Linked DNA regions of Homo sapiens: regions 2, 3, 4, 5, 6 and 7 are each linked to region 1. Evidence: promoter capture Hi-C in 16 types of primary human blood cells and fetal thymus (Javierre and others, 2016). All regions are on one chromosome and are shown on one strand. The core of a region is centred on a gene start or on the middle of the fragment in contact, and the rest is flanking DNA. Distances in the headings are between cores, read along the strand shown. Region 1 holds the start of YTHDC1 (YTH N6-methyladenosine RNA binding protein C1). Region 2 overlaps CENPC (centromere protein C). Region 3 overlaps CENPC (centromere protein C). Region 4 has its middle 56 kb from the start of UGT2B11. Region 5 overlaps STAP1 (signal transducing adaptor family member 1). Region 6 overlaps STAP1 (signal transducing adaptor family member 1). Region 7 overlaps UBA6 (ubiquitin like modifier activating enzyme 6).

Region 1 (3,759 bases), core at 333-2,832:
TTTAGCATTTAGTTTAAGGATGGAACATTAAACTGCTATAACCTAATCAAAGAACTACTTTAGGATAAGGGCAGTATCTTAAAAGTATTCCCACCCATTCCACTTTCCCAGCTTGTCCCTAACCTAGGGCAGTTCATTGAAGCATGAAGACTCTCCTGATGCAGAAACCAGAAAAATTAAGAAAAAAGGATTACACGCCTAATGTAACTTGACTCTAGAGCCCACTTAACAACCCCCGACAAAAAAACCCCAAATCAATTAGGCACACAGAAGAGATGTGTGAGACACAGAGCAGCGACCGTGTCATATTTTTAACTATAATCTTTCCAAGACTATTATGTTAATCTTAGGGTTGAAAAAGATCTTAAAGCAGCATTTAATCTAGACCACTCTCCAGAGAGACACTGATCTAGGACCTACATTAATATCTCTAGGGCTTGGGAACTTAGTATTACTATCTTTCCATTACAGCAACGTCAGTTCTCTCTACATTTCACTGAAATTTATCCCTCCAACTCTCTGTAACTTGCATTCATTTGTTTCTGACTGTACCCTCTGGGAGCTACACACGGTTTTTCTAACATAATAGCACCCAGGATTTCTTTGCCAGCCTAAGTCACACAGTCATCTTTCCAAACTAAGTATTCCTTTTTCCAAGTACTATGTTTTTCCAAAATAAGTATTCGAGGAACAAAACGGGTAATTCACTTTGCCTATTTAACAGGAACAGCCAGAAGTTATTTGCAGATATTTCTCAAGATTAATAACCTGCCAGTGCCACTTCCTAAACTTGCTCACTTACCACACCACCAGTGTTGATCGCGGCATTAGGGGTTTTCAAATTTTAGCCTAACAGAAATGGTTGTCCTGAAAATACGCGTTACATCCGCATGATCCTACCAGGAAATAAACCTAGGAGCTTGCAACTCAGAAAGGGCCCCTCTCAGCCCAAGACAGCTAAACGGAAAGTCAAGCGTGAAATCCGCATCAAAGAAAAACCCTACTGAGATGAAGTGCTAGGCCATATGGAGACTGAGGACGAAAGGGCAGGCCTGGTCTCCGCCAGAGTCTAAGTGTCTCGGTGGGGGCCACCGGCTCCTCGCGAGGCCAGCTAACCTCCCCAACCCCCACCCCCCACCCCCAACGACGACCACTGCTCCATCACCCCACTCCCGGGCCCCAGCCTCGCCTCGGCCCGTCATCTTTCTCCGCACTAACCTTTCTCCTCCCGACTGTCAGCCGCCATGGCTCCCCTTCGGTTTCCGCCGCTGCCACCGCCGCCGCCGCTTAGACGCGACTCGCGCGGGCGCCGCAGCCGCGGCAGAAGCACGGGCCCGTCCGTCAGTCCGTCTGCCCGGATACGCGCGTCGCACTTGGCCTCTTAACACTCAGCCTTCTCGACTCTTCCCGCTTTTTCCCTTTCTCCCTTCCTTTCACTCCAGCATCCAGCGGCCTAGGCCCAGCCTTCTCGTTAGGGCTCAGACTCGGGCTAGGTATGGGGGAGGGAAGGGAAACAGATGGCGACGGCGGGCGGCGCTAAAATGGAGCCTGCTTCCTGCGCGAAACAATCCCGCTCCCGAAATGCCCTGCGCTGTTTACGCTTCGTTCCTCTCTGGGAACGTCACAGTGCGGAGAGGGGCGGGGAGGCGGGGACGTGCAAAGGAACGTGACGTGACGTCAGCGCGTCGCCCTGCCGCCCTCAGCCCACTGGTACCTGGAAGGAGTCTTATTCAGGGATTAGGTTACCCAGGTTGTTCATGGAGTTCCCGCTGTACGGCCTATAACTGGATGGCGCAATTTTCCCACCTGAAACTCTTAGTGCAGGGCCTAACAGGCCTTCTTAGCTAGAGTCGCTCTAAAGGACTCCTGATTCAGTTCGGGTAATCGGAGTCTTATTTAGGACAAGTCTGGGTGAATCCCTTATGTTTACCAGATGTACTTTCTTAGTTGGAGTTCCACTCTTACCCAAAGGCAGTGCAGCATGCAACCAGCTTGTTTGTAGTCACAAAAGCCTGCTAGTTTTTGTTTGTTTTGAGACGGAGTCTCGCTCTGTCGCTAGGTTGGAGTGCAGCAGCGCGATCTCGGCTCACCGCAACCTCCGCCTCCCAGGTTCAAGCGATTCTCCTGGCTCTGCCTCCTGAGTAGCTGGGACTACAGGCGCCCGCCACCACGCCCAGTTAATTTTTTTATTTTTAGTAGAGACGGGATTTCACCATGTTGGCCAGGATGAAGTGCTGGGATTACAGGCGTGAGCTACCACGCCCGGCCTAGTTTTGTTTTTAATTGGGGAAAGAATTGTATCATAATAGGTCTTTGTAATTAATAACTAATTTAAACATGTTATCAAGGCCCTGGGGCACAAAATTGATTTAAGCAGACCATCGAGGAATCGAAACTACAGAATAAATGACCAGTAGATACATAACTACATAGTGTGGTAAAATCTGCAAGAGAAACTTGCTTAAGATTCATTGTCCAACGGAAACAATCTAATTTTGCTTCCTTGAACTATAACTGAGTTATAAGGGAAAGAAAAATCTGAAAAAGGTAACTAAGTAACTTCGTGATATGAAGACAAACTGGCAAACTAACTGCATATTCAGGGAAAGACAAGTAGTCTAGAAGTCTAGAATGTGGTACCTCTTTTTTTTTGAGACGTGGTCTCACTGTGACACAGGCTGGAGTGCAGTGGTGTGATCATGGCTCACTGCAACCTTGGGCTCAAGTGATCCTCCCACCTTAACCTCCCAGGTAGCTGGAACTACAGGCATGCTCCACCACATCCGACACATTTTTTGCATTTTTTGTGGAGATATACCATCTCCGCAAGATGGCTAACACCTAGCCATCTTGCCCAGGCTAGTGTCTAAATCCTGGGCTCCAGCAATCCTCCCACCTCGGCCTCCCAAAGTGCGGGATTACAGGTGTGAAGCCACCAGGAGTGGCCCCATTTCTAGGACCTTAATTGAACACTAATTTGAATATACGAACACGCACACGCCACAAACACACACACACACACACATTAAATAATATCTGATGATCCTGAGGAATTGCTATTTGTATTTTTAGTTTTAATAAGTTTTGCTTTTTAAAGAATTTCTTATAATTTCATGATTCATATGAAAATATTTGCAGGCCAGATGCAGTGGCTCATACCTGTAATCCCAGCACTTCGGGAGGCCCAGGCGGGCGGATCACCTGTGGTCAGGAGTTTGAGACCAGCCTGACCAATATGGTGAAACCCCGTCTCTGCTAAAAATACAAAAATTAGCCAGGCATGATGGCATGCGCCTGTAGTCCCAGCTACTCGGGAGGCTAAGGCAGAATTGCTTGAACCCGGGAGGCGGAGGTTGCAGTGAGCTGAGATTGTGCCACTTTCACCCCAACCAGGACAACAGAGCTAGACTCTGTCTCAAAATAATAATAAGAATAGTAATAAATATTTGCAAATGAAATTATATGGTATCTGGGATTTATCAAACTGGTGGCAGGTGTAGCGAAATGGGTAGGAGAATAGATTAAACAAGTCTACCCATGAGTTAACAATTGTTGAAGCTGGGCGATACATATGTGAAAGGAAAATCTCCCCAACATCACTAAGCCAAAGGAAGAAGTCAAGCTGGTGATTGATGTCTCATGTATCCCTAAAATGTATAAAATGAAGCTGTGCACGACCACCTTGGGCACATGTCATCAGGACAGCTTGAGGCTGTCATGGGCTCTTTCTTAACCTTGGCAAAATAAACTTTCTAAATT
Region 2 (3,759 bases), core at 568-3,067, 870 kb before region 1:
CAAAATTACCCAGTCTTGGGCAGTTCTTTATAGGAGTATGAGAAGGGACTAATACATCCTGTAATCCCAGCTACTTGAGAGGCTGAGGCACGAGAATTGCTTGAACCCGGGAGGCAGAGGCTGCAGTGGGCTGATATCGTGCCACTCCAGCCTGGGGACAGTGGGAGACTCTATCTCAATGAAAGAAAAAAAAAAATTATCTATGTAACCAAACACTACTTGTTCTCCAAAACCTATTGAAGTAAAAAATAAAATATAACACAATTTTGTGTGGTACAAAACACTTGGTAATGATAATAAACAACTATGCCACTGGCTTATGTATTTACTATACTTTTATCCATTACCTTAGAGTGTACTCTTACCACTTATATAAAAAAAAAAAAAGTTAACTGTGAAACAGTCTCAGGCAGGTCCCTCAGTAAGTATTCCAGAAGAAACCAATGTTATTATAGGAGATGACAGCTCCATGTGTGTTACTATTCCCAAAGACCTTACAGTGGGACAAGATGTGGTAGTGCAAGACAGTGATAATGATCCTAATCTTGTGTAGCCCAAGGCTGATGTGCTGTTTGTGTCTTACTTTTTAACAAAAAAGTTTTAAAAGTTAAAAAAAAAATAGAAAAAAGCTTATAGAATAAGGAAATAAAATATTTTTGTACAGCCAAACAGTATGGTTGAATTTTAAGTATTACAAAAGAGTCCAAAAGTTAACAACAACAACAAAAGGATATAAAGTGAAAATGTTACAGTTAGATGAGGTTTATTACTGAAGAAAGAAAAATTCTGTTTATGAATTTAGTGTGGCCTAAGTCTACAGTATTTATAAAGTCTACAGTAGTGTACAGTAATGTCCTAGGTCTTCACATTTACTCAGCACTTACTCACTGACTCATCCAGGACCACTTCCAGTCCTGAAAGCTCCATTCATGGTAAGTGCCCTATAAGGGTAACATTTATCTTTTATGCCACATTTTTATTGTACTTTTTCTACATTTAGATACACAAATACAACTGTCTACAGTATTCAGCACAGAAACACGCTGTACAGGTTTGAAGTACAGAAGCAACAGGGTATCATCCTATATAGCCTAGGTTCGTAGTAGGCTATATCATCTTATGACGTTCATAAGACAAAATAGCTTAATGACTCATTTCTCAGTAACACATAGCTGTAATTTGTTAGAGCAGCAACTGAAAACTAATACAGATGTCCCCAACCCCCAGGACAGGGACCGCTACTGGCAGTGGCCTGTTAGGAATGGGCTCACACAGCAGGAGGTAAGCAGCACGCCAGTGAGTGTTACTGCCTGAGCTCTGCCTCCTGTTAGATCAGCAGCAGCATTAGATTCTCTCAGGCACATGAACCCTATTGTGAAATGTGCATGTGAGAAATCTAGGTTGTGTGCTCCTTATGAAAATCTAATGCCAACTCCCACTGCCACCACCAATTTTTGTGGAAGAAAAATTGTCTTTCACAAACCAGTCCTTGGTGCCAAAAAGGATGGGGACCATTGTAATACAGGAAGAGATTTCTTTTATTTTTCCTTATTTTGTTTTTCCTTATTACTTACTGGCTTATGAAAATTCTACAGCCACTGTAAAGATTATCACCTACACTATAAAGATTATCACCGCACTGGGCGCAGTGGCTCACGCCTGTAATCCCAGCACTTTGGGAGGCCTAGGTGGGCGGATCACGAGGTCAGGAGATCGAGACCATCCTGGCTAACACAGTGAAACCCCATCTCTATGAAAAATACAAAAAATTAGCCAGGCGTGGTGGCGGGCACCTATAGTCCCAGTTACTCGGGAGGCTGAGGCAGGAGAATGGCGTGAACCTGGGAGGTGGAGCTTGCAGTGAGCTGAGGTCACGCCACTGCACTCCAGCCTGGGTGACAGAGCGAGACTCCAACTCAAAAAGATTATCACCTACACTAAAAAAATACCTAGGCTTTATGTATGCCTCTTTAAAGGTCACATGCTTAGGACAACAAACTACTCAATCTGATTGAAGAATCAAAGAAAGCAAAAAGCTAAATCCCTATTCCCCTCAAAATCATATGTTAAACAAGCATCAAGACTAAGAAAGTAAAAGAGGATAAATCTCTCAATCATGCTGGCTTTCATATTCAAACATGCCAAATTTCATACTTTATACATAGGTAGCACACACTGGCAGTGACCTGGTTTTTTGAGCAACTAAAATAAACAGCATAAGGCCTTCAAACTTTGAGATTCAGCCATTGTTAGAAATTAGTTTGTCTCCTGAAAATTCACACTCTGGAATCTTAACCCCCCCAATGTGATGGGATCAGGAGGTGGGGAATTTGGGACGTAATTAGGTCCTGAGTGCAGAGCCTTCAGGAATGGGACTAGTGCCCTTATAAGAGACACAGATCAAAGTCTATGGTATTCTTATTATAGCAGCCCAATCTGACTAAGACATCCATCAAGAATGTTTTGCCTCAGATAATTATTTCTCCTCCTTATTTTTTATTACTACTTTGTACAATGATCATAATATACCAGAATAACAATAACAGCTAGCACTTATATAGCACTTACTCTATACCAAGCAGTATTATGAGAACTTTATTCTTATTCACTTAATGTATATGCCCACTAATGAGACAGCGACTACTTTAGTAGCTTTTTATGGATGAAGAAACTGAGGCACAGAGAGGTTAAGTAATTTTCCAAGGTCACAATGTAAATGGCAAAGGGGGGGAGTTTGAACTCAGGCATTTAGATTACAGAATTCATTCCCTAATCACTGTGATATACTGCCTCCCTAAATGGGGAAAAAAGCCCCCCGAAATGTTTCAAAGGTATTTTTATAACTTAATAAGACAAAAAAAGTTATTACATCCAAAAATAATTTGCCTTAATCAAAAAGACAAAAAAGTAATACTAAAAAGTATATATTTCTAGTGTTTTTTTCTCATCTATTCAATTTGGTTCTCTAAGCACACCTCTCCTCATTTCTGTAAACATTTAATTAAGAAAGCTTTTGAAACATACAAAAATAGAATGATGAACTCTCATGAATACTTAATGCTAACCACCTGCCCAAGCCAGAGTCTACTATCCTCACTCCATCTTATTTCAAAATAAATGCCCAGTATCATAATTCATCTGCAAATATTTCAGTATGTACTGAAAGATCAAGTGCTTCTAAAAAACATAACCGCAATACTGTTATCACACCTAAAAAATAAATATTTAATACCAAATATCTAGTTAATAGTCAAATTTCCAATCATCAGTTAAACATATCTTCAAGGATTTCTTTGAATCAGGATCCAGGTTAGCACCACATACAGTGATTGGTTGATCTGTTTCTTAAATTTCTCAATCAATATTAGCGGTTCTCAATCAAGGTGATTTTGCCTCTCAGGGACAACGGACAATTTCTGAAGACATATTTGATTTTGTCACAACTACAGTGGTGCTACTGGAATCTAATGAGTAGAGGCCAGGTAAGCTTCTACTTACAGGGCCTTACCTACAGGACGGCCCCCACTACAACAAAGAAGTATCTAATCAAAAATGTTACTAGTGCCATGGTTGAGAAACCCTGATTCCCTAGGTTTCACCTGGTTCTTTTTTATTTCTTACATTTAATTTATTGAAAACATTAAGCAGTTTGTCATAAAAATCTTCATGCAGGTGGATTTTGCTGACTACATCCCCAGGTATCATTTGAAAGATTTCACCACACTTTATTTCTTGTAAACTGGTAGTTAAATCTAGAGA
Region 3 (3,759 bases), core at 524-3,023, 850 kb before region 1:
CTTAAACCTCATGAACCAGCCTCTGCTAGCTTCAAACTTTTCTTCTGCTGCTTCCTCACCTCTCAGCCTCCACAGAATTAAAGAGAGTTAGGGCCTTCCTCTGGATTAGGCTTTGGCTTAAAGGAATGCTGTGGCTTGTTTAATCCTCTGTCCAGACCACTGAAACCTCTATATCAGCAGTAAGGCAGTTTCCCTTTCTTATCATTCATGTGTTCACTGTAGTAGCACTTTTCTTTTCCTTCAAGAACTTTTCCTTTGCATTCACAAATTGGCTGTTTGGTGCCCGAGGCCTAGCTTCTGGACTATCTCGGTTTCTGACATGCCTTCCTCACTAAGCTTAATCATTTCTAGCTTTTGATTTAAAGTGAAAAATGTGTGACTCTTTCTTTTACTTGAACACTTAGAAGCCATCGTAGGGTTATTATTGGCCTAATTTCAATATTGTGTCTCAGGAAATAGGGAAGCCTGAAGAGAGGGAGAAAGATGGGGAACTGGCCAGTCAGCAGAGCAGTCAGAGCACATGAATTTTCACTTTCTTAAGTAGCTGTGGTTTGCGGTGCCCCAAAACAATTACAATAGTAATGTCAAAGATCACCTGATCACAAATCACCATAAAAGACATAGTAATGAAAAAGTTTGATATACTGTGAAAATTACCAAAATGTGACACAGAGACACAAGGTGAGCACATGCTATTGAAAAAAAAAATGGTGCCAATAAGGCTTACTCAACAAAGGGTTGCCACAAACCTTCAATTTGTGAAAAATGCAGTATCTCCAAAATGCAGTGACACAAAGCACAATAAAACAAGGTATGCCTGTATAAATATAAATATAGAAATAGATATAGATGCCTGTATTGTATATGGTGTGTACATATGTGTATGTGTGTGTGTATATATATATCTATTTCCTATCTCTGTACACTGAGAAAGACTAGAAGCAATGGTATCCCAAACAAGGATCACGTCAAGTGCCCAAATCTTGGTTTCTAAATGCCATCTTCCACTAAAAAGAACCAGGTTTCCTGGAGCAGTAATTGATCCCAGAGCTGGGGCAGGAAAAAGACTGGAACATCTTATGCCAAAAAACAAAGACAGTATTCACAGAATCATGACAAAAGCACACAGAGACCAGCTGAAAGAAAATCCAGTGACCAAATCTATCACAATTCAAGTATCATAATAAATGGTCAAGATTTTACAACCCCATGGCATAAAATAGTAGTAGTCCATACTGATATAAATAAAAAGAATCATGAATAAAATAATTGGCATGCGGGAGAAAAACTGGCAACTAATTAATGCGGAAGGAATTAAAGAAACAGAAAATAGAAAATAATGTGGTACCATCATTAGTGGCTGATAATTCAAGTGGGAGTCTTGAATGTATGTTAAGGTTGGTGAATGGAGGTTTGACAAGAAACAGGCTATTAAGAGTATCAGAATATCACTCCACAATAATATTTATCAATTATAAGAGAAAAGCAGTGTCTTTACAGTAGAGAAACCTGGCAGACAATAACATGAACAGGTAATCAGGATTGATATCATGTCAGCAGGGCATGGTGGCTCACACCTGTAATCCCAGCGCTTTGGGAGACTGAGGTGTGCAGATCACTTGAGGTCCAGAGTTTGAGACCAGCCTGGCCAACAAGGTGAAAGCCTGTCTCTACTAAAAATACAAAAATTAGCCCAGCATGGTAGCATGTGCCTGTAATCACAGCTACTCAGGAGGCTGAGGCATGAGAATTGCTTGAACCTGGGAGGTGGAGGTTACAATGAGCTGAGATCACACAACTGCACTCCAGCCTGGGTGAGAGAGCAAGACTCCATCTCAAACAAACAAACAAACAAAAAACAAAAGCATCATGTAGATGGGTGAACGTTGTGTGCCTCCTGTGTGATGCACAAATTACATCCCCTAACTCCTAACCCTATAGCATCATTTCTGTAGTATTCCTGTCAAATATGAATGGCACACATTTGATCATGAGTTAAGTTAGGAAAAAAACTAAGAAACTGTTCCATGTTGAAGGAAACTAAGGGACATGGCAGCTAAATGCAGTCGACGATCCAGGACTGGATCTTGAACCAGGAGGAAGAAGAAACTCTGAGATCCAGGACTGGATCCTGAGCTAGAAGGGAAAAGGAACTGCTAGTGAAATCTGAATGGAGTCTGTGAATGAACCTGTGTTGTATTAATGCTGATTTCCTTATTTGTATGGTTCGAGGGTAGTTATATCCTTGTCTTGCTGAAATACATTATGGGGCATTTAAGGGAAATAATATATCATGTCTACAATTCCCTCTCAAATAGTTCAGAAAAAAGATGTATGATAATAGACGTGTATTTATTAGAGGAGGCAGGGAGGGAGATGGAAAAATGTTGTAAAATGTGGACAATTGTGAAATCTTGATGAAGGGGATATGGGATCTCTGTATAAGACTGAAATTATTTCAAAATAAATTATTTTTTAAGTGACTAACACAAGGGACAACTCCTAAATTTCAAAGATTAAAGGATCCTAGTAAGTATGGAGATGGAAGAAAACAGGTTATCTACAAAGGAAAGAAGAAATAAGGCTGCCTTCAAATTTCTATTCATAAGCATTAACTCTCATGAAGCAAAATAGCAATACGGTGATAGTTTAAAGAAAAAAAGATCATGACTCAAGATTATGTTCTCTATTTAGCTGGTGGTTCATTGTGTTTAAAAAGAAAAAAAAAATCCTGAGTCCTTGCTAGAATATGTGAGAATGTCTACCAACTTTACAAAGAAGTAACAAGTATATCTGTTGACAATAAGTGTATATATATTAAACAATTTATTAAAGGAAAAAGTACTGACACAGCGAGTCAAAAACAATTCAATCATATGCTGTTTCTTAGCCACTTTTAATTCTCTAATAAAAGTTAAATAAAAAGATAAAGAAACAACAACCAACCAAAAGAAAGCAGAAGTCACAATACTAATATTAGACAAAACAAACTACAAAGTAAAAAGCATTTAACACAACGAAGCAGATAAATTTGACCAAAGCAGGTACACTCCATATGAAGGCTTATGTGATCAGTAACAGCACTGAAATGTACATAACAAAGACTACAGAAAATACAAGGGCAAAGACAGTTGCAGTGGGAACACTTTACTTCAACTCTAGCAGTCCTTAATAGATCTCAAATAAAAAGAATACATAGGTTGAGAACATCAAGCTTAGTATGTCCAAATCTAACATCCTGTTCTTTTCCTCAAAATCTGCTTCTTCCCCAGTAGTCCCCAGATCAGGTAGTAATATTGCCATTCTTCCAGGAGCTCGGGCCAAAAACCTTCAAGTTCTCTCTAACGCCTCTCTTTTTCTTATACACCACGTATCGTCCATCAGAAAATCCTGTTGACTTTACCCTCAAAAATACCTAAAAATCCTCCTCCTGCTTTCCACTTTCTACTGCTACCACATTGGTCTAAGCCAACACCTCTCACTAGGATTATTTCAACATCTCTCCAGCTAGTCTCCTTGCTTCCAACCTTCCTCCATCCCTTCAACCCCATCAGTCAACTCCTAACACAGGAGCTGCAGTGATTCTGTTAATACAGGTCAAGTCATGTCTCTCTTCTGCTCAAAACCCTCTAATGGCTTCCCATCGCTCTTAGTAAAATTTTGCCTTTAACATCCTATGTGATCTTTCATTCTGTTGCCTCTGTGACATCATTTTTCCTACTACTCGTTCGCTCTCTTCCTCTGCTCTAACCCTCTGGC
Region 4 (3,759 bases), core at 733-3,232, 810 kb after region 1:
CTAGAGGTACTTCTAGTGGGGGAGTTAACTCCCTCTATTCCACCCTACCCAGGTTCTCTGCCAAACTTGCCACATCGTTGAAATACTTATTTTAGGCAGGTCCAAGTCTTGCTTCTGCCACTACAACAGACGCCTGGTCAATGTGGCTCCATTAAGTTCCAGGTCCCTTTTCTTTACAGGACTTAACGCAAATTAAGGGGGGATCTTGGCCAAGTTTTCAGATGACCCTGACAGGTATACAGAGGCTTTCCAGAATTTAACCCAGGTATTTAAACTCCAGAAAGGACGTTATGTTACTTTTGAATCCAACTTTGACTGCTGTGGAAGACTGGCAACCAATGGCTGACTGCTGCTGGTTGCCTTGAAAGTGGCAGAAAATTTGGGGGATGAGCTTTATATTTTTATATGTATAAATATATATATATATCTTCATATAGATATGAATACTATTCAGCCATAAAAAGGAACGAAATAATGGCATTGACAGCAGCAACCTGGATAGAATTAGAGACTATTATTCTAAGTGAAGTAACTCAGGAATGGAACACCAAATGTCATATACTCTCACTCACAAGGGGAGCTAAGCTATGCGGATGCAAACACATAAGAATGGTACATTGGATTTGGAGACTTGGGGGAAAGGATGGGAGGGGGGTAAGGCAGAAAAGACTACACATTGGGTACAGTGTATATTGCTCTGCTGATGGGTGCACCAAAGTCTCAGAAGTCACCACTAAAGAATTTATTTATTTAACCAAACACTACCTGTTCCCTAAAAACTTATTGATATGAAAAACAAATTTAAATAAAAACAGAAGGACAATATATAATGGTAAAAAATTCAATTCAACAAGAAGATCTAACTACCATTTCTACTGAGACTATTCCCAAAAATTTGAAAAAGAGAAAATTCTCTTTATCTCATTCTTTGAGGCCAGCATCATCCTAATACCAAAACCTGGCAGAGATACAAACAAAAAAAGAAAACCTCAGGCCAATATCCATGATGAACATTGACACAAAAATCCTCATTAAAATAATAGTCAACCAAATCCAGCAGCAAATCAGAAAGTTTATCTACCATAATCAAGTTGGCTTCACTCCAGGCATTTTATTTCAGTTTTTTACCTAGGAAGATTTATTGGTCAAAAATCTCCTCAATTCCATTTCTTGATTTAAAAACAATATAGCTAGCGGAACTCTTACCCTTGAGAATATTTTAAAATATTATACGTGCCTTATTTTGTATTAAGTAATTGCTTTTTATGAAGTAACTTCTGAGATTTATTTTAAAATTTTACTTCAGAGTGTACCTGTAAGTTATGGCCAAGATTATAATTCATGATAGAAGACACAGAATCTCCCAGAACTTGGTTTTTTATTTGAAAAAAAAAAAAGATCTGTGCTGCATAAATGTATGTGTATGTATCTTATGAGGGAAATTTCAAACTAGACAGCTAAACACTTTGGTAATGGCCAAGACAGAATTCTTTTTATTGTAATCTGTAAAAATAAGTAGAGAATATAACTTTAACTTTACTATTTAGCCTGAAGGAATTCTGTCTGTCACCATATTTAACTAACATAAGGGGAAATGAAAAACAAATTCTGAAAATATTTTTATATACCAGCAGCATTAGAAATTCAATAAATCAAAATCAAAACCCCAACAAAAATTAAAAACAAACAAACAAATAAACACAACTGTGTTATTAATGGAGATATTTTAAAATATTTAAGAATAATATTCTTACAAATATACAGCAGCTTACATTTTTTCATTTATATATGATACATTGGACTTTGTGGACTTGGGGGAAAGGATAGGAGCAGGGAGGGATACAAGACTGCACATTGGGTACAGTGTACACTGCTCAGGAGATGTATATAACCCCCAAAAGCTTTGTTTGCTCTAAATAAAATTTAAATAGAAATAGTTGAATTCATTAGCTCATTATTAATACAATTAGTATTAATCAACCTTTAATCAATTAATACGATTATACTTAGCTATACATTTGTATTAATATTGTGTTAAATTTATAGATAAATTAGAAGAAAAATAAGCTTTTTCACTGCAAAACAGAGATCAGGAAACTTTTCCTGTAAAACCTCAGATAATATATATTTTAGATTTGCAAGTCTTATGGACTCTGCTGCACATATTCTGTCATTGTAGTGCAAAGCAGCTACAGACAATACTTTAAAGAATGGGCATGGGTATGTTCCAATAAAACTTTATGTACAAACAGGTATTAGAGACACCACTAAAACCAATGCTGTAGAGAAATTTTAAATTTTTCATTTAATTTCATTTAATGTTTTCATTTCAGTTATTGCATTGTATTCTTCAGCTCCAGGATTTCTGCTTGTTTTTTTTATGGTTTCTATCTCAATGATATCTCATTTTCTTCATGTAATGTTTTCCTGAATTCATTTATTTCTATTTCAGCTGTTCATTTGTAGCTTACTGATGTTTTTAAGATAATTATTTTGAATTTTTTGCCATATAATTTATAGATCTCAATTTCTTTATTTTTAATTACTGAATATTTATTTTGTTTCATCAGAAGCATCGTATTTTCCTATTTTTTATGCTTTTTATATCTTTGTTTTGGTGTCTGTGTATTTGAGGAAGAAGTCACCTCTTCTACTATTTATGGACCTGATTTGGAAGGAAAATGCCTCCTCAATCAGGCTGACAGAGATTCTGGAAGTCTTCAAAACCTTTCCTATAGATGTGCTCTTCATACCTCTCTCCTTACTGATAAAGATCAGAATTATATGTCTTACCCAATCCCACAGAGCCAGTCTGAGTCCTAAGAACTGCCCATTTCTTCTCCCTAGGGCAGTGCATGATATAAGGCCTATATCACTTAAACTACAAATAAATTAAGTGCATTATGCCATTCCTGCATTGCTAGAAATAAATGCCTGGGATAGGGTAATTTATAAAGAAATGGAATTTAATTGGCTCATGGTTCTGCAGTCTTTATAGGAAGCCTGGTGCTGGCATCTGCTTGGCTTCTAGGGTGGTCTCGGGACCTCCTACCATCATGGCAGAAAATGAAGAGTGGAGGGATGGGGCAGGCACGTCATGTGGTAAAAGCAGGAGCAAGAGTCAACCTGGGGATGGGGAAAGGTGTCACATACTTTTAAACAACAAGATCTTACATGAAAACTCACTCTAGTGAGGACAGCACCAAGCTATGATGCATCCGCCCCCATGATCCAAACACCTCCAACCAGGCCCCACCTCTAACATTGGGAATTGCTATTCAATATAAGATTTAAGTGAGGACAAGTATCCAAGCCATATCAGTAGGCAAGTAAACAATTAAAGGAAATGGATTATAGTCATTAGAAACTGATGATAAAGATAAGCTTTTTTTCCTGGAAAGCATGAATAAGAGATAAAACATAACTTCCAGGATCACTTGTAAACCCCTTCTGTGTCTGGTATAATTATTATTATATTGATTTACTTTTCTTCTATGTAGGCTTTTCAGATTCCTTTTCAGTAAATATTTCTTTCACATCTCTCAAAACAATTAGGGTCAGAGAGAGTTTACACCTCCTTGATTTTTTGTAAGAAAATAAGTGCCTTTGTTAAGTAACTCCAATCTACATAAATAAGAACTTTATGCACACTACTCTTCATATTGAAACAATGGCCAATGTGATGGTGTTATGAAGTGAGGCCTTAAAGAGGTAATTAGGACATGAAGGTTTCTTGCTAGTGAATGTAACTAAGGCCCA
Region 5 (3,759 bases), core at 347-2,846, 780 kb before region 1:
TGGTAGAAAGACAGGTAAAGGGATACTGTTATAGCAATAACACTTTACATCCTATATAAAAAGAAGGAAAGAAAAGACTTTGGATGGGGTTGAAATTAAGATGTGTTTTCTTGTCATTAAACTGCTTGACTGAGACGTATCAGGTATATATTGGGCATCTGGATTTCAGACAAGAAAGAGAATCTCTTTGCCTAGTTTTATAACTACTTCTTTGAGGACCATTTATTGGCTGATCCTTCAATAATATGCCCTTTTGAATTGTTCTTTTCTATGGTAATTTGTTCCTTGGTTCAAGAGGCATCAGCAGGTTCATTGCATGTTATAACCAGTTCTCAACTGGGGGGAGGATAGAGTGAAAACACAGCAGGGCTTGAACAAAGATACCTTGTCCCAAATTCCAATGTGCCCCTGAGGTTGATTGCTGCAGTCACACTACCAATTTGTTCAAGTCTTACTGTATGTACCTCTCTTTGAAATATGACTTTTCTGCTCATCCTATAAAGAGGCTGAATCTATTTCTCTAATCTTTATTTTATGTTTCAAAATTGAACTTACAGCAAACAATAATTTTCTAGCCTTTGAATCTGGATTGGGTTATGTGACATGTGTTGGTAAATGTGACACAAGCAAAGTCTTAGAATAAGCTTGCCCATTGGGTTTTGCTCTCTCTTGTTCCTGGTAATCCTTCTGCCAGCATGTGTCAAGTCTAGGCTAGCTGACTGGATAAAAGAATGGATAGAGTGAGACTCCAGTTGTCCCTCCCTTCCCAGTCATTCCTGCCTTCCCAGCTAAGACCCTAGACAAGTAAGTGAGGCCACCTTAGACCATTCAGCCATAGCCAAGCAAGCCCAGATCAGAAAGGCCGTCAGCCAACCATAGAATGGTGAGAAATAGAAATCATTTGCTTATTTTAGTCCACTAAGTTATAGGGTGACTTGTTACATGGGAGAAGCTAACTCATATATTATCTTATTAGGCATGAAGACAAAGAAAGAAAAGAGTTCTACCAAGAGCATAAGAAAAAAATGGTGATTGTAGTTCAAAATGAATTTAATCTTGAGCTTCCTGGTAGCCAGGGAATTAAAAGCAAAATTGAGTTATAGAGTCGTCATTATTTGAGAAAATAAGCATATAAATTCTGAAGAGTCGACAAACATTTTACTGGTTAAAAAACATAAAGGATATGTTAATATTGAAGAGACACAAAATACCATAAGACAAAGTATCTTCACATGCACAATAAAAGAGAAAACCCTTTATATAACTTTCTTATATTAATCGCCAATATCATGATGGTTCAATAAGTTGTAAAACATCAGCTTATCAAACCATAAAGGAAGGAATGATTAACATGTTTATTAAAATAACAGGAATTTTTTTAAAACACACTTTTGGGAAAAGCTGCATATGAAAGTAAATCTTTAGATGTGAAAGGATTTTATTTTTAAAACTTACTTGCCATTCTTTTGTAATATAGTCACTCTTCATATTTATTTAAATAAACTTAATTGAATGAAATGGGAGTTTAACTAGGTTATTTAAATATTTTAAACTTCAAAAGTCATATTTCTGTAGAATCTAGAGTAATATGAATGTATTAATAATTAAATATTCACCACATCAATAAGATTTGGATTTTAAAGTTCAGCTTTGATGGTGTTCAATTATCAATTTCTCACATTTTCTTGATCTGTCAATAATATATACTATTTACTGAACCCCAGCTATGAGCCATGTACTCTGCTAAGTGCTTTACATGTATTAATTCATTAAATTATTTCATCTGTCCTAGAAGGTAGATATTATATGCTTTTCCTATGCTGGGCCCTTCACTGGTCCATCTGACATGCGTAGGCTTCCACTGAAATTGCATAAAAAGTCTTAAATCAATGAGGAAAGTTTTAGAAAATGAACTACTTAAACACAAATCAAATTACAGTGATGAGTCACTTAACAATGGGGATATATTCTCAGAAATGCATTGTTAGGTGATTTCATCATTGTGTGAACATCACGGAGTATACTTATGCAACCATAGATGGTATAGCCTATTACACACCTAGGCTATATGATATAGCCTATTGCTTCTTGGCTACAAACCTGTATAGCATGTTATTGTATTAAATACTGTAGGCAATTGTAACACAATGATAAGTATTTGTTTATCTAAACATATCTAAACATAGCAAAAGCAGAGTAGAAATATGGTATAAAAGAAAAAATGGTATACCTGTATAGGGCACTTACCACAAATGGAGCTTGCAGGACTGGTAGTTTCTCTGGGTAAGTCAGTGAGTGGTAAGTAAATCTGAAGGCCTAGAATATCATCAGATACTACTGTAGACTTTATGAACACTGTACACTCAGGCTACACTAAGTTTATAAAAAATGTTTTTCTTTTTCATTAACAAATTCATCTTAGCTTACTGTAACTATTTTACATTATAAACTTGTTTAATTTTTGACTCTTTTGTAATAACATTACCTTAAAACAAAAACACATTGTACAGCTCTGCAAAAATATTTTATTTCTTTATATCCTTATTCTATAAGCTTTTTCTATTTTTAAAATTCTTTATTTTATTTTTTTTTACTTTTTAAGCTTTTTGTTTAAAACTAAGACACACATACATTAGCCTAGGCCTACGCAGGGTCAAGATTATCAATATCATTATCTTCCACCTTCATATCTTATTCCATTTTGTGTGTGTGTGTGTGAGATGGAATCTCGCTCTGTCGCCCAGGCTGGAGTGCAGTTGCATGATCTTGGCTCATTGCAACCTCTGCCTCCTGGGTTCAGGTGATTCTTCTGCTACAGCCCCCTGAGTAGTTGGGATTACAGGTGCACGTCACAATGCCTGGCTAATTTTTGTATTTTTAGGTAGAGATGGGGTTTTGCCATGTTGTTCAGGCTGGTCTGGAACTCCTGGCCTCAAGGGAGTCGCCCACCTCAGCCTCCCAAAGTGTTGGGATTACAGCGTGAGCCACCAGGCCCAGCCCCAGTGGATGGCCTTTAGGGGTAATAACATGCATGGAGCTGTCATCTCTATGATAGCAATGCCCTCTTTAGAAATACCTCCTGAAGAACATGCTTGAGGCTGCTTCACTGTTAGTTATGTTTTTTCAAAGTAGAAGTAGTATACTCTAAAACAATGATTAAAAAGTATAGTATAGTAAGTACATAAACCAGTAACATAGTCATTTATTAATCATTAACAAGTATTATTTACTGTACATAATTATATGTCCTATATTTTTGTTTGACTGGAAATGCAGTAGGTTTGTTTGCCAGCATCACCACAAACACCTGAGTCATGCATTGTGCTACAACATTATTGACAGTTGATACGAATTTTTCAGCGCCATTGTATCTTATGGGACCACTATCATATAGGCGGTTTGTCATCCACCAAAAGATCTTTTTGTGGCACATGATTGTATATCCTTATCTGAAATGTTATACTAAAATAAACTTGAGAATGATTTAATCAAGTGGTGGCATGGGCCTGTAGTCCTAGCTACTCTGGAGGCTGGAGTGGGAGGATTGCTTGAGCCCAGGAGTTCAAGGCTGCAGTGAGCCATGATTGTACCACTACGCTCCAGCCTGGGTAACAGAGCAAGACTCTGAAAAAAGAAAGAAAAGAAAAGAAAAAGAGAGAAGGAAAGAAAGAAAGAAAGAGAAAGGAAGGAAGGAAGGAAGGGAGAAAGGAGGGAGGAAGAAAGGAGGGAGGGAGGAAGGAAATAAAATGTTAAGCCAGG
Region 6 (3,759 bases), core at 657-3,156, 760 kb before region 1:
TTATGCCTTTTATACAGGTGAGATAATTGGTATTTACACTGTTCTGAACCAATGAGAATGTGGTGATGTGGCCTACATTCCAGGATGCTGAAAAAGAGAATATAGCTCTGTGATTTTAGGCTGCAGTAGTGGGAAGATTGAGTCAGGAAAGTTGTCTCTGGATATCTTAAATAGAACTGGTGGGTCTTGAAGATATTTATATTTACCTAGTTCCTCTGCTTCTCCAGGTCCATTGTGTTGATCAAGTAGAAAAAGGAACAGTGTGGTTGAATTTTTTATATTTTGGTCATAATTCTTAGAGAGCAAGGTAGCTGCTGATTCATAGAGCACACTTACATCTTTGCCATAAGTGCCTCCCAAAGCTTCTCAGTTATCAGATCCATTCCTGACTAGACTTTTAAAATAAAATTCAATAAAGAAGGCAGAAAACTAGATTGCTAAAGGATAATCCAAATAACTAAGTGACTACAAGCAATGGACAAGGAAGAATAATGTGTCATCTTTGTAACTGGGTAAACTGGGGCTCATTTCTGTCATTAGCTCATACAGTCTACAGTGTAAGGAAAACTAACAGCCTGGATTATTCTTTCATTTTTCACCCTCCCCAACCATACTCCTCAACCCCTCAGTAAGGTTGTATTTTTGTGATTTTTTTTTTTAGAGACAGGGGTCTTGCTGTGTTGCCCAGGCTTGAGCACAGTGGCTGTTCACAGGCACAATCATAGTGCCAGCCTGAAACTCCTGGGCTCAAGCGATCCTCCTACTTCAGCCTCCCGAGTAGCGGGAACCACAGGTGTGTACCACTGCGCCTGGCTCAGGAATTCTTTTTCCTCTTCAAGGTTATCTGGTATATTTATTCTGATTTCATTTGTATAAAAATATTAGTTTAGGGGTAGAGACACATTTTATCTACTCCTAGACCGGCAAATTATCCTGTTACAATAAAATACTAAAATGCTTAAATTCTCTGGTTTTAAAGGTTATTTGCTTTAAAGCATAAGAAACCAACTACAGCTAACTTAAGAAAAAATAAATTTATTATAAGAACATAGAATGACTGGAAGGGTAGCAAACCTTCAGGGACTAGGACGCAGTTACTTGTGCTAAGAACCATCTGATTAGGAAACTGGATCCTTCTTTGTTCTTCTACTCAAGTTCAAATTTCAGAAAGAAAGCATTTTCTAGCTAACTTGAGTCACATTTTTTGCTCCCCTCATTTTTTAAGGGACAGGGTCTTACCCTGTCACCCAGGCTGGGGTGCAGTGGCACTATCACAACTCATGCAGCCTCGAACTCCTGGACTCAAGGAATCCTCCTGCCTTAGCCTCCTGAGCAGCTGGCACTACAGGTGTAAGCTACCACACCTAGCTAATTTTTTCAATTTTCGTAGAGACAGGATCTCGCTATGTTGCTCAGGCTGGTCTGAAACTCCTGGTCTCAAATGATCTTCCCACCTGGACTTCCCAAAGTGCTGGGATTACAGGTGTGAGCCACCACACTTGGCTTACATTCTTATGCTTTAATTGAGGGAGAGCAAGGTACCTAACTATTGTCTACCAGATTGTATTCAATGGGAAAGGTGGTAATTCCTCAACAGAGAATGGACACATGGTCAATTAAAAAGGATAAATAAGACACAGGGATAGGTAAAACTATGGTCATACAGTAAGCCATTGAAGTGAAGTAATGACAGTAATCTCCATTAGATTCCAGTTGAGCCTTCTCTTACTCTATACTTATGCAGGTGATGCTGAGTTTTCTCTCACTCTCTATTAATACAGGTAACACTCCCAAACCTTTTCAGTGTCATTGATTATTTTGTGAAGGAGACTCGAGGAAATTTAAGACCATTTATATGTTCAACTGATGAAAACACTGGTATGTTTTTCACTTCATTGCTATGTTAAGGGAAACAAAACAAAACAAAACAAAATCCCCAAAACTCTGCATATGATTGATAGTACCAGCCAGGCAGGAACTGTAGTTCAGTCTTTAAATTTATCCATTTGGAAATCATTTTGTCACTCAGTCTGTGAAAATAGGAAAGTACCAATATGTATTATGAACAGAGTATGGGTGCATTTTAGGGAATGGAAAACCCTGAGGTATGTAGTATTACTATTAACTTCATTCTATCATTCTACTCAGCTTTATCTAACAAATTCAGAGGTAAGAGGAAACCATAATCATACAAGTTAATGGAAACCAAATGGAATTTAAAGGGATAGTCTGTCAACAACGTTAGATGCGTAATACAGGATAAAATGAATGAAGATTAAGAAGAGACGATGAAAACTGGTGATTAGCCAATAGATGACTTGAGAGAGAGAAGTTGTATTCCACTATGAAGGCAGAAGTCAGATTGCAAAATAACAAGGAATGAGTGGGTGGTGAGGAATTACAGATAAAGATTGTAGCTAGGACCAGCTACAGAATTTGCCAGCCCCTTGTTCATAAATTAAGAATTTCAAAAACAGTTATAGCAAACCATCAAACCGAGCATGAGACCCTATGCAACTGCACAGTTTACACACCCTTGAAACTGGCTCTCTTTGCAATCCAACTTCTGGCAGAGCAAGCCAGGCTGAATGTAATAGTCTCTCTCTATCTTATGCAACAGTTCCTGGTACACATGGTCACTGGCAAACTGTAAGCAGGAGAGAGAAAATATCTCCAGCTTGTGTGGATTTTAGTTATCAAAACAAGTCTCTTTTTCTACAGATTATGGGGGAAAGCAACCTTATTTGGCTATCTGCATTGGGGCATATCTGGATAGTCTTATTAATTAAAAGGATAGCAAGTTTAAAAGTCCAAGTTCTTAAAACATGATTATGAATATTGTGATGCTAAATAATAAGAGTAACCAAAACCACAGACTCTCAGGATCTGAAGGAACTTTAGAAAATTATAGTATCTTATCTGTTTAGAACTCACCTGCACATTCAGTACAGGAAACATCTCTAGGATATGACCCCTTCAGCTTGTTTGTAAATTGTGAATGTAAGAGGGCTTAAATTTGATTTTTGAAGCAGCACAGTTCACTTCTGGACAGTTCTCATATTAGAGAATTCTTCCTTGATATTGAGTCTGAAGCATTCCTTCAACTTCTACATATTAATCCAATTTCTGGCTTTGAAACAATACGACTTAAAAGGCCATCAAATATTTAAAAATGTCTACAATGTCTTCCCTCAGTTTTTTACTCTCTGTCATCTAAATTATTGGTTCCTGAATTTCTCTTACTCTCATCTTTGATGTTCTTTTTACATTGTCTAATTTTTAAACTTGTCACTTAAAATATAACCCTACTGAATAATAATGTTGAGCATCTTTTTATATGTTATTTGCCATTATATATTTTATCTGGGAAAGTATCTATTTAAATCTTTTGCCCATATTTTTATTGGGTTGTTTTTTCTTTCATGCTTGTTTTGAGAGCTCTGAACCGATACAAGCTTTTTGTGTGTGTGCATGTGTGTGATTGGGAAGTATTTTCTTAGTGGGTGATTTGTCTTTTCATTTTTTTAACAGTGTCTTTAGGAGAGCAGAAGTTTTAAATTTTGCTTCTGTAGATTGTACTTTGGTGTTATACCTGAGAACTCTGCCTAACCTAAAATCACAAAGACTATTTTCCTGTTTTCTTTTAGAAGTGCTGTGATTTCATGTTTCACATTTAGATCTATGATACATTTTGAATTATTTTTAAACTGGGAGGGATGTGTCAAGGTTCATTTAGTTGCATTTAGATGGGTAATTGTT
Region 7 (3,759 bases), core at 474-2,973, 740 kb before region 1:
ATCTTCAGCATTCTAGTCTCTTAGTACTCTTTCTTTGCAGGACCTAAAAACAAGCCAGATGGCAAAGGAGAAGCACAGTTTGCAAAAAGTGCTAGGCACAAAGTCCCAGAATACAGATAAGTGAGTCTAGAGTTGAGAGACAATCAATAACTGGCAAAAACAGAATAATATAGTAAGTCAATACTAATTTTAAAAGGCAAGAAAACAGAAAAAGAATCACAAAATAGGTTAGACCAAAAAAACCCCAAAAACAAAAACCCTAAACTCTCCCAGAACAAACTAAAATGGCAGAAACAAATCTAAATATATTGGTAATTATATTAAATGTAAATGGCACAAGTGTTCCAGTTTAAGACAAAGATTATTCTATTAGATTAAAAATAATAACGGCCAGGTGCGGTGGTGCACGTCTGTAGTCCCAGGTACTTAGGGAGCTGAGGCAGGAGGACCACTTGAGCCACTGCACTTTGACCTGGGCAACATAAGAGGACCTCTGGATCTAAAAATAAACAAAACAAAAAACTCCACTAAAATCCTAAATCTATTTTGTTTACCAGATACACATTTAAAACATAAAGATACAGAAATATTAAAATTAAATAGATGAAAGAAGTTACTCTGTGAAAATACTGACTAAAGGAAGGCTAGTATAGCTACAGAGAAAACAGACTTTAAGGCAAAACATATTACTGATACACTGCATAGCGATATAATTCATCAGAAAAATGTAACATGTTAAACTACATGCAGTCAATAATTATTCTCAAAATATATAAACCAGAAACATATACAAGGAGAAAGAGGCAAATCAAGATCATATTGGGTGATTTTTTAACATACTTCTTTCAGTAATTGACATAATACGTATATTAAAAATCAGTAAGGATATAGATTTAAATAACACAATTAACAACCCTAAAAGATACATTAGATGGCTTGTTTTTAGATCCCACAAATAACGAGTACTAGGAGACTAGAATGCTGAAGATATGGAGAAGAGACTTTTCCCCTTCCCACTCTCCCTAATTACTACAGAATATACTGGTTTCAAATGCATAAACATTGTTTAAAAATTTATCATATTCTTGGCCATAAAGCAAGTCTCAAGTAATTTCAAATAATTAAAATCAGATTTTTTTATGACAAAAATTCAATTAAACTGCAAATCAAAAAACATAATTAGAAAAGCCCATGTTTGGAAAAAAAGAAACACTCTCCTAAAAAAGGATTAAAGAGAAAATTCCAATGAAAATTAGGAAAATATTTTAACTAAATATGACCATTATATATCAAAATTTGTGGAATATGACTATAATAGTTGAGTAAATGTGACTATATTACAATAGTATAGAGATAACTTTTAAATGTGTATGTTGAAAAGGAGGACAAGTTAAAAATGAAAGAAGTAACCCATCTCAACAAGTTAGAAACAGAATAGTGAAAAAATCCCTAATAAAATAGAATAATATTGATAAAGGCAGAAATTAATGGAATAGGAAACAAACATACTATAGAAAGGATCAACAAAACCAAAATTTGGATCTTAGAAAAGATTAAACTATTTTTGTTTGGAGTTAAAGTTATGTAGAAAATTTTAAGAAATGGGCCGGGTGCAGTGGCTCACGCCTATAATCCCAGTACTTTGGGAGGCCGAGGTGGGCGGATCATGAGGTCAGGAGTTCAAAACCAGCCTGGCCAACGTAGTGCAACCCCGTCTCTACTAAAACTACAAAAATTAGCCGAGTGTTGTGGTGGGCGCCTGTAGTCCCAGCTACTTGGGAGGCTGAGGCAGGAGAATTGCTTGAACCCAGGAGGTGGAGGTTGCAGTGAGCTGAGATTATGCCACTGCACCAGCCTCAGTGACACGACGAGACTCTGTCTCAAAAAAACAAAACAAAAAAAAAGAAAATTTAAAAAAATGTGCAAATAGTTTAGAGAATCACTACAGAGTTTATTGTTTCCAGGTACAAAAACAATACAAATAAACCAACTGTATTTTACACATAATCAACAGGAAATAATGTGGGCTAAGTAATTTGGATTAACATTCTCACTTGAAAACATTTAGAAAAGCTGGATAAAATATACTTTTCAAAGATGTAGGAAGGCAGCAGGGAGCTGATAAGTTGGTGAATAATTACCATGCCAATAATATCTGAGAAAAGATAGAAATTCAGAAAAATGAACCATTCATTTGGGACCACTGTGTTAGGAGTATTTATAGATTGCAAAAGGCCACTGGGAAGTTGAGTAGATAGAGCTAAGGGGCTAAAGATTCAAAAAGAGTCCAGGGTCAGTGAAGAGGTAAGGGCCTGGTAACTCCAAACCATGCTTTGAAACCCTGAATGGTTGAACCCTAGAAATAAGGATGAACAGAAGAGCATTACCACAGTCTGTGGCTCAGCTTTCAGTCACCTAGGTGACCTGGAAAATTTCAGTATCTGAAACTGGATCAAAATAATCCTAAATTACTAATGCAGGTACCTGCCAGAAGCAAAAAACTCTGTGGAGGATAAAAATATCATTCTGAGCATCAAGTTATTTCTAGTTTTTTCAAACAATATTGGTAAATAATTAAAGGTAACCAGGCACACAAGGAGACAAGACAGTAAGAATGAAGACTAGAACAAACAAAATAAAAACAGACCCACAGGCGGGTTTTGATTCTGGAATTATTAGACAGACTAGAAAATAATTATGCTTTTCATTTTGAAGCAGATAAGAAATTGAAAATTTCAGCAAGACAATTAGAAACTGCAGGAGTGACAAATTTACATGCTTTCAATTAGAAATATGAGAACTGAAAATACAAGGGGCTGAGAATAACCAAGATACTCTAAAAGAACAATAAGTTGGGAGGATTTGTTTGGCCAGATATCAAGAATATATCAGCTACAATGATGATGATGATGGTATACTAGCACAGGGATAGAAAAAAGGGAAAAAATGTTTAGAAAGAGATGTAAGGACTAAGCTCTGATATTTTGTTATCTTGCCCAAATTCCTGTCTAAGGAGTCTGGGGAGTCATGCTCTACAAACCATAAATTCTCATCAGATGGGTTTTATTTAACCCTGTATATTGTGACTTAACTTTCCAATCTGACTCTGGCATAACAAGAAAGAAAATCAAAATATTTTACCCCGAAATATGTTTCTCTGCCATATCTTGAAATGGCCCTGCAAAGCCATCCCTTGTGGGAAAAATCTACATTCTATAAAGAATCCCCTTTCCCCTTTACCCATTTTTTTTTTGTCCTTCCTTCCTTTCCAAATCCAGGAGATAATCAACTAAGACCCAGGCATCCTTTTAGGTCCAATAAGAAACACTTTACAACCTGCTCTCTTTGAAGTCTGCTGAGAGTTTCCTCTGCACAATAAAACTTGTTCTCCACAATCTCTTATTTAACCTGAATATTTCCTTCCTATTGATCCCAGGTCTTCAGATAAACTCGACCAATTGTCAACCAGAAAATGTTTTAAATTAACCTATACCCTGGAAGCCCCCGCTTTGAGTTGTCCTGCCTTTCTGAACCAAACCAATGCATTTCTTAAACGTATTTGATGTCTCATGCCTTCTATATAAAACCAAGATGTACTCTGACCACCTGGGGCACATGTTCTCTGGACCTCCTGAGGGCTGGGTCACAGGCCATGGTCACTCATATTTGGCTCAGAATAATCTCTGAAAATATTTACAGAGTTTGACTCTTTTCATCAACAGATGTTGATGAAATCTGTATTCACATACGGGTATAATA

The links. Contacts are between HindIII fragments. The CHiCAGO score rates a contact against its expected background, and 5 or more counts as called.
Region 2: a contact is called between a fragment that was not itself captured here and the fragment with the promoter of YTHDC1 in region 1, in 1 of 17 cell types (naive CD8 T cells). The highest score is 5.2, in naive CD8 T cells.
Region 3: a contact is called between a fragment that was not itself captured here and the fragment with the promoter of YTHDC1 in region 1, in 6 of 17 cell types (total CD8 T cells, monocytes, naive CD8 T cells and 3 more). The highest score is 6.7, in total CD8 T cells.
Region 4: a fragment that was not itself captured here is called in contact with the fragment with the promoter of YTHDC1 in region 1 in 1 of 17 cell types (megakaryocytes); the score reaches 6.4 in megakaryocytes.
Region 5: a fragment that was not itself captured here is called in contact with the fragment with the promoter of YTHDC1 in region 1 in 2 of 17 cell types (activated CD4 T cells and total B cells); the score reaches 5.7 in activated CD4 T cells.
Region 6: a contact is called between a fragment that was not itself captured here and the fragment with the promoter of YTHDC1 in region 1, in 1 of 17 cell types (fetal thymus). The highest score is 6.9, in fetal thymus.
Region 7: a contact is called between a fragment that was not itself captured here and the fragment with the promoter of YTHDC1 in region 1, in 1 of 17 cell types (total CD8 T cells). The highest score is 5.2, in total CD8 T cells.

The regions. Positions count from the first base shown.
Region 1 is chr4:68,348,508-68,352,266 of GRCh38, forward strand. YTHDC1 (YTH N6-methyladenosine RNA binding protein C1) reads right to left here and starts at 1,583. Exons shown (of 17, transcript NM_001031732.4): 1 at 1,219-1,583. The coding sequence starts at 1,246. RefSeq lists an enhancer at 952-1,531. The HindIII fragment of the contact is 7,711 bases long and covers 1-3,759 here.
Region 2 is chr4:67,483,175-67,486,933 of GRCh38, forward strand. All of the region lies in intron 17 of CENPC (centromere protein C), which reads right to left. Among named protein-coding and RNA genes, the nearest start is that of CENPC, 60 kb to the right of the region's middle. The HindIII fragment of the contact is 2,381 bases long and covers 628-3,008 here.
Region 3 is chr4:67,499,471-67,503,229 of GRCh38, forward strand. All of the region lies in intron 12 of CENPC (centromere protein C), which reads right to left. Among named protein-coding and RNA genes, the nearest start is that of CENPC, 44 kb to the right of the region's middle. The HindIII fragment of the contact is 2,878 bases long and covers 335-3,212 here.
Region 4 is chr4:69,157,174-69,160,932 of GRCh38, forward strand. No RefSeq gene overlaps it. Among named protein-coding and RNA genes, the nearest start is that of UGT2B11, 56 kb to the right of the region's middle. The HindIII fragment of the contact is 166 bases long and covers 1,900-2,065 here.
Region 5 is chr4:67,567,031-67,570,789 of GRCh38, forward strand. The region is part of intron 1 of STAP1 (signal transducing adaptor family member 1); the gene reads left to right. Among named protein-coding and RNA genes, the nearest start is that of STAP1, 10 kb to the left of the region's middle. The HindIII fragment of the contact is 1,909 bases long and covers 643-2,551 here.
Region 6 is chr4:67,591,479-67,595,237 of GRCh38, forward strand. STAP1 (signal transducing adaptor family member 1) reads left to right here. Exons shown (of 9, transcript NM_012108.4): 8 at 1,782-1,878. Among named protein-coding and RNA genes, the nearest start is that of STAP1, 35 kb to the left of the region's middle. The HindIII fragment of the contact is 3,093 bases long and covers 361-3,453 here.
Region 7 is chr4:67,610,722-67,614,480 of GRCh38, forward strand. UBA6 (ubiquitin like modifier activating enzyme 6) reads right to left here. Exons shown (of 33, transcript NM_018227.6): 33 at 1,931-3,759. Among named protein-coding and RNA genes, the nearest start is that of STAP1, 54 kb to the left of the region's middle. The HindIII fragment of the contact is 4,333 bases long and covers 1-3,759 here.